Regions from separate parts of the Homo sapiens genome. Here region 1 is linked to region 2. Evidence: promoter capture Hi-C in 16 types of primary human blood cells and fetal thymus (Javierre and others, 2016). All regions are on one chromosome and are shown on one strand. Each heading gives the region's core, a stretch centred on a gene start or on the middle of the fragment in contact. The rest is flanking DNA. Distances are from core to core; before and after follow the strand shown. Region 1 holds the start of HMSD (histocompatibility minor serpin domain containing). Region 2 holds the start of TMX3 (thioredoxin related transmembrane protein 3).

Region 1 (3,266 bases), core at 335-2,834, 4.8 Mb before region 2:
AGTCACACAACAGGAAATAGAACATTTGAATAGGCCTATATCTACTAAAAAAATTAATCAATAATTAATAGCCATCTAAAATAATTACCAGACCCAGATGGGCTCACTGGTAAATTCTAAAAACAAATTAAGAAAACGTTTACTCCAATTCTCTAAATCTCTTTCAGAAGATAGAAGCAGAAGAACTACTTTCTAATTCATTCTATAGGGCTGGAATTACTCTGATAACAAAACCAGACAAAGACATTAGAAGAAAAGAAACTTAAAGACCAATATCTTTCATTAGTATAGATGCAAAATCCTGAACAACATATTCACAAATGAAATCAAACTATGTGTAAAATAGTTGGATTATACATTGTGACTAAGTAAGATTGATTGCAGGTGTACAAGACTAATTCAACATTTGAAAATCAAAGGAATCCGTCATATCAACAGGTAAAAAACAGAAAAAATCCTCAAAAAATTGCTAGCAACTCCAATTCAACAACACATTAAACAGATCACTCACCACGATCAAGTGAGATTCACCCGGGTATGCAAGTATGATTCAATATACACAAATCAATAAATGCGATACATTGCATTAAAAGAACCAACAACAAAAACTGCACGATCATTTCAATAGATGCCGAAAATGTATTCAGTAAAATCCTACATCTCTTTATGATAAAAATCCTTAACACATTGGGTATAGAAGGAATATACCTCAAAACAATAAAAACCAAAATGAAAAACCCACTGCTAATATCATACTGAACAGGGAAAAATTGAAAACCTTTCCTATAAGATCTGCAACAAGACAAGGATGCCCAGTTTCACCCCCTTTATTCAGTATCTGACTGGAAGTCCTGGCCGGGGCAATTAGGCAAGAAAAAGAAACAAAGGACACCCAAACTGGAAAGAAAGATGTAAAATTAGCTTTGCTCACCAATGGTATAATCTTATAATCGGAAAAACCAAAAGACTCCCCTCAAAAACTACTAGAACTAATAAATGAATCAGTAAAGTTGCAGAATACAAAATGGATATAAAATATCCGTAAGATGTCTATACATCTACAGTGAACAGTCTGAAAAAGAAATCAAGAAAGAAATCCCACTTACAATAGCTATAAGAAATATGATGTATAAAATACCTAGTAATCAATTTAATTAAAAAAGTGAAAGACTTCTACAAGGACAACTATAAAACACTGATGAGAAAAACGTGAAGAACACACACAGAAAATGGACACATATTCATGCTCATAGGTTGGAATAATTAATGTTAAAAGTACAATGCTACCCAAACAATTTACAGATTGAATGCAATCCCTGTCAAAATACCAATGTCATTCTTCACAGAAATAGAAAAAAAAAAAAACCCTATAATTTGTATGGAACCACGAAAAACCCCAAATAGCCAAAGCGCATTATCGCTTCTTGACTGAAAACTCCCGGACAGTTGGGGCTTTTTCCTGCACAGAGATTGGCCACTTCCTGCACATCAGGAGATCCCCGCGGCCTGCGGGACCCGCCCCGCCCTCCTGCCCAGGCGCCCGCTAGGTGGTGCCTGGCTGGGCCCGACTCCGCCCGCCTCCCCATTCACTGGGAACTAACACCCGGCGCCGCTCAGACATCTCTATTCCCGCCTCTCCGACCCGGTCTCACTTCGCTCCTGGGCAGCTGCGCGGAGAACTGGGGTAGGTGTTTGACTTTGGGAGTGGTTCCCACACGCTGGATTCTCGTTACCTGCTCTTGAGCCCAGGAAAAGGGCGGGAACCTACGAAAGGGAAGCCCAGTGAAGTGCTCAGCGCACCTGTTGCTCCAGACCTTTCCCTGGGGCTGTCCTTCTTTACTCGGTCTCTGGCGGGGGCTCCCTAAGGGCAGGGACTTGGCTGCACTTGGCTGTGTGCCCTATGGGTCCAGGCGCGGGGAGGGGAGGCCAGGGCGAATGGGCGCGGAGCTGGGGGGTGAAAGTCCTGCCTGGGCTCCACTCATCCTGCAGGAGCTGGAAGTAGGTACAATGAGGCCTCCCACCCTGGTGAAGTTTATGTTGGGCGCTGGAAGGGGCTGTGAGGCCTGGGACCTCCAGGAAAAACAACAGCAGCAGTATTTATTTGTCGGTACCGAAACTCGTATGCTCTCAGTATTCAGAATTTGTACTTGACATTCCTCCTCCTTTAAAAGAAACCAGGAGAGGCGTTGATAGTATGTTTTTGGACTGGAAAAAAATCAAAATGAGGACGATACTGTTGCCAGAAAGCAAAAGTGTTGGGATAGTGTAAAAAGAAAGTAACCAATTTACAGAGATTCCCAGTAGACAAGTTGTGAGAATTTGCTCAAGAACAAAAACCAGTATGTGTTAATTGAAATACATGTTACAACAAAGCCAAGAAAGAGTCCTTTAGTAAATTCAGATAAAACAAGTAAAATGGGCCAGGCGCGGTGGCTCACGCTTGTAATCCCAGCACTTTGGGAGGCTGAGGGGGGCGGATCACGAGGTCAGGAGTTCGAGACCCAGCCTGGCCAATATGGTGAAACCCAGTCTCTACTAAAAATACAAAAATTAGCCGGGTGTCGTGACATGGGCCTGTAGTCCCAGCTACTCAGGAGGCTGAGGCAGAAGAATCGCTTGAACCTGGGAGGCAGAGGTTGCAGTGAGCCAAGATTGCACCACTGCACTCCAGCCTGAGGGACAAAGCGAGACTCTCTCTCAAAAAAAAAAAAAAAAAAAAAAAAAAATGTAAGATGAGTTTAAAGGAGGCAGGAAATAATTTCAATAATGTTTACAAGAAATGCTGTGTGATGATTCATATACGACTGCTGTGTAGGAATAGTGACTATAGGCACCTAGGTTGACAGGCACAGTGGTTACAAAAACCAACCTGAAGGCCTAAATATTAAACCAGGAGACTTTGAAAGCCAACTTGTGGATAGAACTCTGTGTTACGCAAATCAGATGCACGAGAACCTCAAATAGTATTTCATTTCAAGGAAAGGCATTTGGCAAAAAAAAGAAAAAAGCAAATTTAATAGTTGTCTTTGCAAAATCCCAATGTAGGACCAAACTGCAAAATGGTCCTTACATTTGTTTGGCTTTAAAAAGCAGTATGACCTGAAAAGTAGCAGTGTCAGGTCAGTCAGAGCCCATGTCCCAACCATCAATCTGGCAGCCCCATCCTATTGTTTTTGTGAATAGGAGATGGTCTGTTATTAATTTAACCCCAGAAAAGTATTAAAATAAGCATTACCATCACCCTAGGAAATATAAAAAGATAGAGT
Region 2 (3,267 bases), core at 727-3,226:
CAAAAGTCTTCTGTCTCTTTATGGGGGGTGAGAGAGAAAAGGACTAGAGTAGAAAAGTGCCTCCGCTGACACCCTCAATAAAGATGTTTTAGCAGAAGTGCTCAGGAAATGCCTCAGGTGAGGTCCCAATAAGGAGGCTGCTAAACAGAGACCACTGGGTTGGGAGTGTAGACATGCAAATGAGCGTGGCTGGCCTGGGAGGCCGAATCCTTGACTACCACTCCCTCCAGGGACTGTAATGCACCGGTTATACACCAAGTTTGGTGTAGGGAGGGCACCTTCCCCTATGCCAGAAAAAGCCTTGCAATTGTCTATGGTCAAGCCTGAAAGATCACACACAGGAATTTGGGTCTGAAGTGAACCTCCTCACTTACTATAAGCAAGGCTGATTAATGCTGTCATACTATGAAGATAAATACAGTACAGTTACCAAATTCTAACACCCATTCAATATAATTAAAGGAAAAAGACATAAATACAAGGTAAGATAATGAGGAAAAAAAGAATATGTAAAAGTTTGCCACAGTTTTTTGATCTCATAACTATTAATAAAACTCTTCTGGGCACACCCTCACCTTCACTTACAACAAGTGAAAAAAATGAGTGATATATAAAAATTGGTTCCAATCTAAAATATTAGAATCACATGCAAATATTCAGATATCTGAGTTGGACAGTTAAAATAATATTTTAAATATATATATGTATACTCACGATTCATCTAAATCTTCTACAAATCCTTTACAGACGACCATATCAAGTACAACAACTGAAAAAAAAAGACAAAATGTACACAATAAATGCTGATTATTTGGCTCATACCGTATAAGCTTAGTCATCTCTGAAGTGTTTTTGACCTTTCACAACCTACCAAAAAATTCATCACTGATGCATCCCAGGGTGCAAATGATGCAAAAGCAAAGGTAGTTCATCCATTTAATAAATATTTAGTCTGTATGCAACCATATCGTGACCGGCCAAGTTCTAGGTAAGCCAATAAATCTAATACACACAGTTCCTTTTTCCTCCATATTTTCACTCTCATCTTACGTCTCTTTTTAACCATCCTATCTTTTTGGAATACAAATAGACAGCATTCTTCTTTATTTCTTTTGCTTTAGTAGCAATTACCTCTTCCGTAAAAACTCCAAATGCCATTCAAAATATTTCCCCTCAAATAGATACGTAGGAAGAAAGTCGAGCTGCAACTCTAATACTTATTACACGGCAGTGCCTGACACAGAGTGGGCTCTAAAAGGTTGTTAAGTGAGCGGACCCCAGTGAGAATGAGGGCACTCCATGCTGACGGGAGGCAGCTGAGAACCGCTGACACACACTCAGGTCCTTTTCACACCGCACAATCCCGGCGGCCTGACCCTGATCTGTCCTCGACCACCCTCTCTTGAGTACTGGTGGTAAAAATCCTTAAACGTGACAAGACTCGGAACCTAAAGCCAAGGCAAGATTTGGTCGTTAAGCTGGGACGGCGGCATCCTTCTTGCCCATCAAAGGAGTAAGCTTTATTGAAACTTCTGCCACAATGAGAAAAACACAAACACAAGGCAGCGCGCCCTTCCCACGTCCAGCATTGGTCCGGCACAGCGGCGGCGGAAGGACCCCAAGGTGTCCGCTCCGTCAGGGCCAGGCAGGGTGGCGCGGCGGGGGCGGCAGGACGCTGCCGGGAATGGGTGGGCATCTCCACGAACCCCGCAGGCCTCGCCCCAGACCCGGGTCCAATCCCGGCCCCACGGCGGGGCCAGGTCCCACGCGCCCGCCAGCGTCCCGACCGCTGAGCCCCCATTACCTGTGGCGCAGAGCCGCAGGGCCGTCCAACTCTTCCACGCTGCCATGCTAGCCCGGGAGAGCTGCAGAAGCTGACTGTGCAAAAGAGGGATAAAGACACTGGGGTCCGCCGCCTGCCCGCCCGGAAAGGGAAACGGAGCCGACCCGGAGCGGAAGAGAAGCACCGCGCTAACTACGGGGGCGGGGCTACCCGGCCAGTCTCCGTCTCCGGCTATGCGCGGGAGTGCGGCGCATGCGAGGGGAGTGCGGCGCATGCGACAGCGCCTGCGCAGTCATGTCTTAAGAATCCTTTGCGCTCTCGGTGCCCCCCTCCACGCCCAGGAGCGTGGGAACCCTGCTTAAGGGCTTTACTAGGGAAAACGGTGCTGGTTCACTGGGGCGCGTTTCCGGGAAGGTGAATACCGGTGAAAGTTATGCTGAGGGTGAGGTAGGCTCTGACGACGCACTTGCAGGTTGAATACTGGCACATCATTTACTTGTTACTCCCGTGTGGTGAGTGCACCTGTGGGTTTTGATGCTGGATCAAATTCCTGGAAAGAGGCGCGCATTAAGACTGCGGATTGCTGAGCTGCGCGACACTCCGTATTTTTCCAAAACGTATTTGTAATATTCTTTCAACCTGTTTGCATAATGGGACATCTCTTAAATGCAGCAAGCTTTAATGCATTTTTGCCAAAGTAAGGATTGCCTCTTTAAAAACTTTCTCTTGAAACTTGAGAACATGAAGTTAAGCGTAGGATATTTTTTGATGGCTCTTTTCTGATTATTTTGGAACTAGATAAAGTAGTATGAAATATTTATATTGCTACCTGTTTTTTCTTCTATACGACAATGATTTGTAAAAACCATATACTTTTATAAGACGGTTACTGCAGCAATCACTACTTACGAACTAGATGAAATTTTTATGGGACATAAGGTACCAGAGAATTTAGATCAAACCAAATTTTGAAAACCTGTGACAACAACAGAAGGGGGATATGATGTCAGCCGGTTCACCTTAGGTTCAAAATTCCAACAGGCAAAAATGTCATAAAACGTCGTTATTCCTAGTGACTAGAAGATTAAATTGCACTCTAATTGAGAGCAAGCCCTAAATGTCACCCCCTTTGTGCATGCAGCATGGTATCCAGCGCAAGCCCTCTACAGATTCAATTTTTCTTTTTCTTTCTCTTTTCCTTTTTTTCTTTTTTTTTTAAGAAAAAAGTAGACTAAAACGTAAGGGGACTGTTGAAATGATGGGAATGTTCTCCCGGTGGTGGTGGAACAGCTTTATAATAGTACCATCGCCTCGATACTCTTATACAGAAGCTTTTCTACTTTCTTGGCAAGGTCTCTGAATGACCCATATTCAATTTTTTTTTTTCATTCTCATGTATTTCAAAGTTTTCTGTCTTCCACAGCATGCAAAGTGAAATAATTTCCTCTTATATTTGCGTTACAGTTTAAGTTCACATGTGGACA

What was found. The method cuts DNA at HindIII sites, captures the fragments that hold promoters and counts their contacts. A CHiCAGO score of 5 or more calls a contact.
Region 1: the fragment with the promoter of HMSD here is called in contact with the fragment with the promoter of TMX3 in region 2 in 1 of 17 cell types (total B cells); the score reaches 5.8 in total B cells.

Annotation. Positions count from the first base shown.
Region 1 is chr18:63,947,717-63,950,982 of GRCh38, forward strand. HMSD (histocompatibility minor serpin domain containing) reads left to right here and starts at 1,585. Exons shown (of 4, transcript NM_001123366.2): 1 at 1,585-1,684. RefSeq lists a silencer at 1,423-1,652. The HindIII fragment of the contact is 6,685 bases long and covers 1-3,266 here.
Region 2 is chr18:68,713,132-68,716,398 of GRCh38, forward strand. It overlaps TMX3 (thioredoxin related transmembrane protein 3), which reads right to left and starts at 1,977. Exons shown (of 16, transcript NM_019022.5): 1 at 1,805-1,977; 2 at 715-769. The coding sequence starts at 1,850. It also overlaps a transcript of CCDC102B not described here. RefSeq lists silencers at 1,625-1,724, 1,905-2,034 and an enhancer at 2,235-2,304. The HindIII fragment of the contact is 941 bases long and covers 1,517-2,457 here.